2 separate regions of the Homo sapiens genome follow, and region 2 is linked to region 1. Evidence: promoter capture Hi-C in 16 types of primary human blood cells and fetal thymus (Javierre and others, 2016). All regions are on one chromosome and are shown on one strand. Each heading gives the region's core, a stretch centred on a gene start or on the middle of the fragment in contact. The rest is flanking DNA. Distances are from core to core; before and after follow the strand shown. Region 1 holds the start of KRR1 (KRR1 small subunit processome component). Region 2 overlaps LOC105369847 (a long non-coding RNA gene).

Region 1 (5,514 bases), core at 1,787-4,286:
AGAATGGCCTCAATCTCCTGAACTCGTGATCCGCCCGCCTCGGCCTCCCAAAGTGCTGGGATTACAGGCGTAAGCCACTGCCCTCGGGCTTTCCTCATTTTTTGATTGAATTGCTTACATCTTTTTATCGCCTTGAATATTATTGTAATCAACCCATTAAATGTTTTGCGAATATTTTGCCCTCTTTTATATCCTTTATTTTTTTACCCTATTTCTCATCATTTTAAATTTTAAATTATTATTTTGAATACTTTATAATCAGTGAATCATTGAAATTGAGATGAAAATTTGGACACTGTCATTTTGATAATCACTTTTGAGTTTATAGTCTTCTAAGGTGATTTTAGGAGATTTTTCAATATTTATTTTCAATATGTATTCAATAAATATTTATAATTTTTAGTCATTATTCAATATTTATTTAAAATCAAATTGTTCTTTCAATTCTAATGAATTTTTGGAAGATGTTGAAATTAGATCTGCTCTTTTCCAAAGTAAGGAATCTAGAGCAAATAGTTCCCACATGTGGAAACTATTGTTAAGAGGTTTTAAAAGTTTAAACTACTCATATGTAATATTGGTTACAATGTTTAATTCTTAGAAGAACTAGTCGAATTAATTTCGGAATTTGTTTATTCCATACCACGTTTATTTTAAAATTTTTCTTCAAAATTGCTTAAAACATAGTCTAAGCAAATTGTTGAAACGTTGTTCTCATTCAATTTGACTGTCAATTTTAATTTTTAGTAAGTATATATATATGTGCTATTCCTGCTTGTCAAGCCAAAATATGAAAATTCAGTTAATGAGTAACAATATTTAAGCATCAGAGTCTGTTTTAAAACTGAAAAAAAAATGTATGTGTACTAAGGAAAAGCTTCAGCCTCTCAGTCTCATGCAATTTTCTATTCATTTAATTTTTATACATTACTTCTTATAACTACTAGCATCAAATTAGTATCTTGCTATATTTTATCTCATATTATCACAGAGGAAAAAGTACTGTATAATTATATATACCCTTCAGTATATGATTAATAGTCATTATAATTAATATTTTTAAATTAATTTGTGATTTTTGTTGCAGGATTCATTTTTTAGTAAAAGCTTTTATATCCTATATGTAAGATAACTCCCTATTCCTGTGATATAACTTGTGTTAGATTATGGGTTCTGGAAGGCAAGTAACAGACTTAAAAAAATTCACTTAACTTCCAATCATATATTGTTTTTATATTGTATATTCAGTTGGTGGACAACATGAGGGCTTTTGAGTTAGGGAAGGGAAAGAATCACTTAATACTGAAATAACTTATTGTAGGAGCCTGATGAATCTTTTCCTTTGGAAAGCAGACAGTTTTAGTGTGGTGTCATCTATAATAGGAGGTCTTGAGGACGTTAGAGAATCTTAGAACTCAATTATTATCCATGTTTTTACACCCCTTTCAGTAATGATTTGGAAAAAGATGTAAAAATTTCAAAAAGGGACAGGTGAACTGTGGGCTCTGCATAGTATGGTAATTAAAAGGTTGGGTTTTACAAACAGACTCAATAGTGCCAAGAAAAGGATGGGTGGGTTTTCGTTTTCCCATCTCCATCATATTCTCAATATTCCTCAAATAATAGCAATACTAAGATTAAAAATATACACGTAAATGGGAAGAAAAGCCTATGTAGAAAATTTTGCTATAAAATAAAGGGCTTTAACACAAATATTATTTCTAGACTATTCCCTCCCCTTAATCCCTATCAGCCCTCTAACACATTTGAAGCTCCTAATGAATAGTAGCCCCCTGAAGCTGCTAGGTCAAACTGCCTGAACTTGAAGACGGGCCTTCCACTTATTAGTGATTGAGTTACTTAAAATAAGAATGATAAAAACCTGCTTCATGAGGTGTACTCCTCACTTTATAACTTTCACCTGCTGCTATCTGTTCTATTTTAGGAATTTATCATTTTTTGAGGAAATTAAAAGAACAGAGATAAAATCCCTGTCATTTATAAAACTCACAGGATAAAAACAAAAAACCCCTCTGTCGTGGGTTCTTCTGTCCATATGTAACAATCTGTTTCATACCTGGATCTCATATATGAAAACCTAAATTATTGTATAAGATACACGAGAGTGGATTTATCAGACAAACGTGTATTTCACTAATGCAAGGAATTTAACCTATCAAAGACTTTCCCTATTTGCTGCAGAAAATTTTAGAAATGCAAGCAATAAAATCAAAATTTAAAAAAATCTTATATTTGGCATGTCGAAGAACTCTTATACTTCCAAAAGTGTAGTTATTTGTAGTTAGTGATGAACCTCTCTACACATCTTAGCCCTATGTAATGTTGGGGGTAGAAAAGGAGTTTAGAGATTTTGAGAAATCTTAGGCTAGTTGAAATACTTCAGAAACGTCAGGATGTTGAATTACCATCCCTCTGACTTAGAGAAATACCAACACTCGGGAAGATTACCATCAGAAACAACTTTGAAAAGTTTAATTTTGTCACTGTTTTTAAAATTAGAAATAATGTAAATAAAGTACTGAAACAAAGTAGTCTCACAATAAATAGTAGCTATTCCTGTCACTTGTTGCAGTGGAGGCCCAATATACATTGTATTCTCATATTTGTACTTCCTCCCAACATCTAGCGCATATTTGGCCAACATATAAATATTTATCGAAAGAATGAATGACATCAATGACAGGTTGGTAGCACTCCGCTGTCCGATGGTCCAGGTTAGGCCGTGAGGCCACGAGGAAACTACGGATAAAACAGTATCCAATTTGCCTATACCGCCTGCTAAACTACAAGTCCCAGTACGCAAACTCCATGGTTTCAGGGCATACTGGGAGAAAGTCTCCGGCTCTTCATTGGCCACGTAGGAGAAGCTGTGGTTTGTGTAAAAGCGCGGGCTTAACGCACGTACGCACGGAGACTGCGCAGATCTCCTCGTCTGAGTTCCGCGGAACTCATTTTGAGTGTAGGCGTTTTAGCCGGTAGGGTTTAAGAACAGTTTCATTTCCGGAGCCACCGGAAGCAGCTTGCAAATGGCGTCTCCCTCGCTGGAGCGGCCAGAAAAAGGCGCTGGAAAAAGTGAATTTCGTAACCAGAAGCCGAAGCCGGAGAACCAAGGTGATGTTATGTGGGAACCGAAGCCTGGGGTTTGTGTACGTTGAGTTGCGATGTTTTTTTCTTTCGTTCCTCGTGGACTTATAAAACCACCTGGAGCCTGTACTGTGTAGTTGAGTACCTGAATAATCGCTGATAAGATTTTGGCTGGGCCCACAGGAACGGCTGGCCGATATGGTGCCACCCAGGTGTTCCTAATTCATTGCTTTTGCTAAAGGGTCCCCAAAGCGAAGCTGTTGCGGATTACGTCTTTTGTAAAAGGATGAGTATTAAGAAAATGCCTAGGGCGACGCAGAACCTTGTAAGCCTGCGGGTGGCTGAAAGTCACTGACGGAATGAGGAATAGGGTGAGGTGGGAATAGGTAGTCATGATATACAAGAGTGGACCCTGATAATGGGGTGAGGTATGGGGAAAGGAGCTATCCGACATGTCCTTAGCTCTAGTTTGTCAGTAAAGACATTTTGAAAGATTATCAATTCCTGTTTGTCAGATGCTAAAATATTAGACGACACAGCCCTTACTGTTTAGGTTGTGTTACCTTTTAATTGTTAACTCCTGCGTTGTAGTCTGGTTTTACCCGTTTTCTTCAGTGTGAATGATAGAGAAGTCATAAATAGCCTGGGGATCTGTTCAACCAGGCTTATAGGAAGTGTTAAAAACATTGAACTCTCAATTTAGATGCATTGGGAAAGTATTCAAAGTTTCTTTGTTGTTGCTCATTAAATGATTATGTAACGTACATAGCAGGGGATACAACTTATATAGAGTTTAATAAAACCATGCGGGAAACTAGCATTCAGACTAAGTAAAATAGAGCATTACCATACCCCTCAAACCCTTACGTGCACCTCTCAGATCATATTCTCTTTTCCTGTATCAGACGTAACCACCCTGAATTGTGTTGCATTCTGTTCCTCTTCTTGTAGTCATGAAGTGGCTTAATTTAGCCTGTTTTTTAATTTTATATACATGAAAGTGGACCGTATGCATTTTTCTGTGTCTTCTTAGATTTAGCTTTTTGTTTTTCAAACAGGGTGATACTTGCGGGTGTAGTTTTAGTCTTTTCACTGTTATGTGGTGTTTCCTTGTATGAATATACCCCAATTTATTTTTTCATTTTACTATCGGTGGACATTTGGATTGTTCCCAATTGCTTGCAATTATAAACAATACTGCTAAAACATCTTTGTACATGTCTTCTGGTTAACATGTTCAAGGGTTTCTCTAGGTTGTGAACATAGGATTGGAATCACTGAAGTGTAGGGTGTGTGTAAGTAATGCTAACTTTTTTCCAAAGTGCTAGTGTCAGTTTTGTTCCCACTAGGAGTGGACGAAAGTTGTCATTGCCTTACATTAGTATGAATACATGTTATCTGAATTTTGAATTTCTGTCATTTTGGTAGTTATGAAATGGTATTTGGTTGCAGTTTTAGTTTGCATTTTCTGATCACCTATGAGGTTGCATATCTTTTCACATGTTTTGAGGCTTCCTTAATTGTGAAACTCCTGAGTATTTCTTTTGTCAGTTTTTTTCCTGAGGTTGTAGTGGGGATTTTAAAAAAAATTATCCATAGCCTTTGAAGTGTTTAAATTGGATAGGGACTTCGTCAGGTAAACATTGTAAGTAACTAGTTGCAGTGACTCACACCTGTAATCCCAGCACTTTGGCAAGCTGAGGAGGGGGGATTGCTTGAGCCCAGGAGACCAGTCTGGTCAACATGGCAAAACCCTTTCGCTACAAAAAAAAAAAAAAAATTAGCCGGACATGATGGCACATGCCTGTAGTACCAGCTACTTGTGAGGCTGAGGCAAGAGAATAGATCGCTTGAGTCCAGGAGGTCCAGGCTGCAGTGAGCTGGGATGGAGCCATTGCACTCCAGCCTGGGTGACAGAGCGAGGCCCTGTCTTTAAAAAAAAAAAAAAAAAAAGAAATGTGTATAGTATATAAGTAATCACTTTTGTGGAATTCGTGTTCTTTAAAGGACATTGGAGAATCCTTTATATGAAGACTAGCCAATTGTCTGTGATTTGAACCAGAAATAGCAACGTGGATGTGAGTATAAGCAGAAAGTTTACCTGTCTGAGGCTGCTAACATAGGGTAATGACGTGTTTTTCAAACTTTACCGTGCTTAAGAGTCTCCTGTTGAGCATGGTAAAACACAGATTCTTGTCCCTCGTCGAAGAGATTCTCATTCAGTAGGTCTGTAGTGGGGCCCAATAATTGCATTTCTGACAGACTTACAGTTTGTGCTGATACTGCAAGTCTATGGATCATACCTTTGAGTATAACTGAATTAGAGTATAGCTATTGAAATTAAGGAGTTCTTCAAATTCAAGATCAAGAGTTTTTTAAATAAATGATTCAGAAGATAATTTACGGCCC
Region 2 (5,340 bases), core at 2,557-5,056, 490 kb before region 1:
TCTCTTGCATTAAGTAAAAATACCAATATAAATAAAATTCGTTTGAAGATTTACCTAGCTAAGTTAACCCTTGTATGCATTTGTATTTATTCAGTAAATAATAAACAATTTTATTTTTATTATTTTTTATTTTCTTTCTTTTTTTTTTTTTTTTTGATGGAGTCTAGCTCTATTGCCTAGGCTGGAGTGCAGTGGCACAATCTCGGCTCACTGCAACCTTCGCCTCCTGCGTTCAAGCAATTCTCCTGCTTCAGCCTCCCAAGTAGCTGGGATTACAGGTGCATGCCACCACACCCAGCTAATTTTTGTATTTTTTAGTAGTGATGGGTTTCGCCATGTTGGCCAGGCTGGTCTTAAACTCCTGACCTCAAGTGATCTACCTGCCTCCCAAAGTCCTGGGATTACAGGCATGAGCCGCCATGCCTGGCTTATTTTCTATTTTTTATGTTAGCATTTCATAAACTTTGTGAATATTATGAGCATGCTGACATGCTAAAAGATGGTCTACTTCAGGGGTTGGCAGACAACAGCCCTGAGCCAAATCATGATGTCCCCTGCCCATTCATTTACTTGTCTATGGATTCTTCTACACTACAATGGCAGGGGCGAACAGTTGTAATAGACAGGGCTGGCTTCACAGGCGTGAGACCTGTATGGTCATAGAAAGCCCCAGCCTTTAGAATGATCTCCTGCTTGGTTTAACGCTCAGCTGCAACTATCTTGCAGATATTAATAATTTTTAAAAAGGGGACTCTGCATTTTTATTTTACACTGGGCCTTACAAATTATATAACTGGTCCTGGTGACAGAGACTGCAAAGCCTAAAATTCTTTAGACCTATAAAACCTAATATATTTACTGTCTGGCCCTTTACAGAAAAAGTTTGCTGACCTCTGACTTAGTTGATCTTCTATTTTCTTCTATATGTAATTATTTAAATTAGTTAATGAGTTAAGAATTACCTGGAGAGAATGATGAAAATGTAAATACTTGGTCCCCACACCCAGAGATTCTGATTCAACAGAGGTCTTGTGTGTGACTCAGGGATCTACATTTTTAAAAAGCCGAATAATGGTTTTTTATTCAGTTGCTCCTTGGTAGCACCTGGATGAAAGCTGGTGGGCCCTCCCTGCCTTGTGTTTGGAGTGTCCCAGTAGAGTCTTAGGACTTCCTTGCCACTACTCCCTCCCTTTTCCAATCCATTTTTTATACAGTACAGGCATACCTCGTTTTATTGTACTTTACCACACTTTGCAGATATCACATTTTTTGCAAACTGAAGGTTTGTGGAGATCCTGTGTCAAGCAAGTCTGTACCATTTTTCCAATAAGCAGGTGCTCACTTCGTGCTTCTATTTCAGTAATTTTCACAATATTTCAAATGTTAAAAATTAGTATTATATCTGTTATGGTGATCTGTGATCAGTGATCTTTGATGTTACCACTGTAATTGTTTTGAGGCACCAAGAACCACACCCGAAACTTTATTGTTAAATGTTGTGTGTGTTCTGACTGCTCCACCAACCCGCTGTTGCCCCATCTCTCTCTCCTCAGGCCTTACTATTCCCCGAGACACTAAAATATTGAAATTAGGCCACTTAATAACATACAATGTCCTCTAAGTGTTCAAGTGAAAGGAAAAGTCTCATGTCTCATTTTAAATCAAAAGCTGGAAATGATTACACTTAGTAAGAAAGATATGTCAAAAGCGGACATAGGTCAAAAGCTAGGCCTCTTCTACCAGTTAGCCAAGTTGTGAATGCAAAGGAAATGTTCTTGAAGAAAATTAAAAGTGCTATTCCAGAGAATGCACAAATGATAAGAAAGGGAAACAGCCTTCTAGTTGGTATGGAGAAAGAACAAACCAGCCACAATAGTCCCTTAAACCAAAGCCTAATCCAGAGCAAAGCCCTAACTCTCTTCCTTTCCATGAAGGCTGAGAGAGGTGAGGAAGATGCAGAAGAAAAGTGTGAAGCCAGCAGAGATTGGTTCATGAGGTTTAAGGAAAGAGGCCATCTTTATAACATCAAAGTACAAGATGAGACAGCAAGTACTGATTTAGAAGCTACAGCAAGTTATCCTGAAGTTCTAGCTAAGATAATTTGTGAAGACAGCTACACTAAACAACAGGTTTTTAATGTAGACAAAACAGCCTTATATTGGAAAAAGATGCCATCTAGGACTTCCATAGCTTGAAAGGAGAAGTCAATGCCTGGCTTCAAAGCTTCAAAGGACAGGCTGACTGTCTTGTTAGGGGCTAGTATAGCTGGTGAGTTTAAGTTGAAGCTAATGCTCATTGACCATTCCAAAAGTCCTAGGGTCCTTAAGAATTATTCTAAATCTACTCTGCCTGTGCTCTCTACATGGAACAACAAAGCCTAGATGACAGCATATCTGTTGACAGCATGGTTTACTGAGCATTTTAAGCCCACTGTTGAGGCCTACTGCTAAAATATATATATATTCCTTTCAAAATATTACTGTTCTTTGACAAAATGCATCTGATCACCCAGGAGCTCTGATGGAGTTGTACCAAGAGATTAATGTTTTTGTGCCTGCTAACACTACATGCATTCCTCAGCCCGTGGATCAAGGAGGAATTTCAAATTTCAAGTTTTACTATTTAAAAAATACATTTCATAAGGCTATAGTTGCCATAGGTACTGATTCCTCTGATGGATCTGGGCAAAGCAAAATAAAAACCTTCTGGAAAGGATTCACCATTCTAGATGCTATTAAGAACATTTGTGACTCGTGGGAGGAGCTCAGAATATGAACATTGTCAGGAGTTTCGAAGAAGTTGATTCCAACCCTCATGGATGACTTTGAGGGCCTCAACACTTCAGTGGAGGGAGTAACTGAAATGTGGTGAAAATAGTTAGAGAACTAGAATTAGAATTAGCCTGAAGATGTGACTGAATTGCTACAATCTCATGCTGAAACTTGAATGGATGAGGAGTTGCTTCTTATGGATGAGCAATGAAAGTGACTTCTTAAAATGGAATCTACTCTTGGTGAAGATGCTGTGAACATTGTTGAAATTAGGACACAGGATTTAGGCTGGGCATGGTGGCTCATGCCTGTAATTCCAGCATTTTGGGAGGCCAGTGCAGGCAGATCACTTGAGGTTAACAGGTCAAGAGTTGGAGAACAGCCAGGCCAACATGGTGAAACCCCATCTCTACTAAAAATACAAAAATTAGCCAGGTATGGTGGCACATGCCTGTAATCCCAGCTATTTGAGAGGCTGAGGCAGGATAATCACTTGAACCTGGCAGGCGGAGGTTGCAGTGAGCCGAGATCTTGCCACTGCACTCCAGCCTGGGCAACGGAGATTCTGTCTCAAAAAAAAAAAAAAAAAGAACAAAGGATTTAGATGATAAAGCAGTGGCAGGGTTTGAGAGGATCGACTGCAATTATGAAAGAAGTTCTACTGTGGATAAAATGCTATCAAAACATATTGCATGCTACAGAGAAATCCTTATGGCAAATTTCATTGTTGTCTAATTTTAAGAAATTGCCACAGCTGCCCCAACTTTCTGTAATCACCATCCTGATTAGTCAGCAGCCATCAACATCGAGGCAAGACCCTCTACCAGCAAAAAGATTATGACTCACTGAAGGCTCAGATAATTGTTAACATTTTTTAGCAATAAAGCATTTTAAAATTCAGGTATGCACATTATTGTTTCAAATATTATGTTATTGTGCACTTAAAGACTACAGTATAGTGTAAACATAACTTTTACATGCACTAGGAAATCAAAAACTTTGTGTGACTTGCTTTATTATGATAATTACTTCTTTGTGGTGGTCTGCAATATCTCAAAGATATGCCTGTCCTGTGTTCAGGTTAATTGCCTCCAAATACTGCTTTTCATGTCTTAATACCTTGCTCAAGCTCTTTTAATAATTACCCAATCTCTGAATACAGCTCTAACTCATCAGTTTTGCATTCCAACACCTCCCACTTTTACAAAGTCCCTCTGACTTTTACAAAGTCTCATTCCAAACTTTTTTTATTTTTTATTTTTTTAGAAGGAATCTTTCTCTGTCACCCAGGCTGGAGTACAGTGATGCACGATCTTGGCTTACTGCAACCTCTGCCTCCTGGGTTCAAGCGATTCTTTTGTCTCAGGCTCCCAAGTAGCTGGGATTACAGGCATGCACCACCACGTCTGGCTAATTTTTTTATTTTTAGTAGAGACGAGGTTTCACCATGTTGGCCATGCTGGCCTCGAACTCCTGACCTCCAGTGATCTGCCCGCCTTGGCCTCCCAAAATTCTGGAATTACAGGCGTGAGCCACTGTGTCCAGCCCCCAAATGTTTTTTCATCCATTTCCTGTACAGAGGCAGCCGGTGACAGTCAAATTTTGTTTCCATATCTAGGTGTTGCTACTCATTAGCTGTGGATCCTTTTCTGAGCCTCAGAATCTTCATCTTGAAAATGGACACAATAACTTACTATGATGCACCGAGAAGAACATAGCATCGTTTCTCTAATATGCTTGCCCAAATTGTATAAGCTCATTCTAATCATGAGAAAACATCACACAAACCTAAACGGAAGGACATTCTACAAAATAACTGACCAGCACTCTTCAAAAGTGTCAAGGTCAGGAAAAACAGGAAAGAATGAGCAACAGGCACAGGAGGAAATCAAGGCAACAACAAATGCAATATAGGATTCTGGATGGATCTTGGACCAGAAAAAGGACATTAGCAGAAAAACTGGTGAAATTTTAATAGAGTCTGCTTTTGAGTTAATAATGTTGGCACCAATGTTAATTTACTCTTTGATCATTATACCATGGTTATGTAAGATGTTAACATTAAAGGAAGCAGGGTGAGGGATATAAGAACATGCTCTATACTATTTTTGTGACTTTTATGTAAGTCTAAAATTAGTTCAAAATAAAAAGTTTAAATTGAGATAATAATATGTACATTACAGGAGAAATTATAAAATACTAACTAGAACCCTGAGGGCATTTATTATGTCCTTGCCACAGGAACTTTATATGTATTTAGTCATTATGATAACCCTATGTGGTAGGAAATACTTTTCTCAGATATGGTTATCTGACACTTAGTAAGAGTCCCCGGAGTTCCAGCAAACTTTTTTCTATTTACTGCTGCCCAAACATGTCCACTTTTGGAGTTTCTGTAAAGTCTCTTGGGGCCCTTTTTGCTACTCTGGACATCTGGAACTCCTATGTCTGCAGTACTCATTTAGCACTAATTTTGTGCAACTTGGTATTGTTAATTTTCTGTGTCTTATTATCCCAGCTAGAAGGCAACTTCTTGAAAGCAGAGGACTGGATTTCACAGATGTTTGGA

What was found. Contacts are between HindIII fragments. The CHiCAGO score rates a contact against its expected background, and 5 or more counts as called.
Region 2: a contact is called between a fragment that was not itself captured here and the fragment with the promoter of KRR1 in region 1, in 1 of 17 cell types (megakaryocytes). The highest score is 6.0, in megakaryocytes.

Annotation. Positions count from the first base shown.
Region 1 is chr12:75,509,131-75,514,644 of GRCh38, reverse strand. It overlaps KRR1 (KRR1 small subunit processome component), which reads left to right and starts at 3,036. Exons shown (of 10, transcript NM_007043.7): 1 at 3,036-3,132. The coding sequence starts at 3,048. RefSeq lists enhancers at 3,069-3,228, 2,735-3,278, 3,279-3,823. The HindIII fragment of the contact is 5,214 bases long and covers 1,110-5,514 here.
Region 2 is chr12:75,997,094-76,002,433 of GRCh38, reverse strand. It overlaps LOC105369847 (a long non-coding RNA gene), which reads left to right. Exons shown (of 4, transcript XR_945110.4): 4 at 1-62. Among named protein-coding and RNA genes, the nearest start is that of PHLDA1-AS1, 31 kb to the left of the region's middle. The HindIII fragment of the contact is 3,161 bases long and covers 2,226-5,340 here.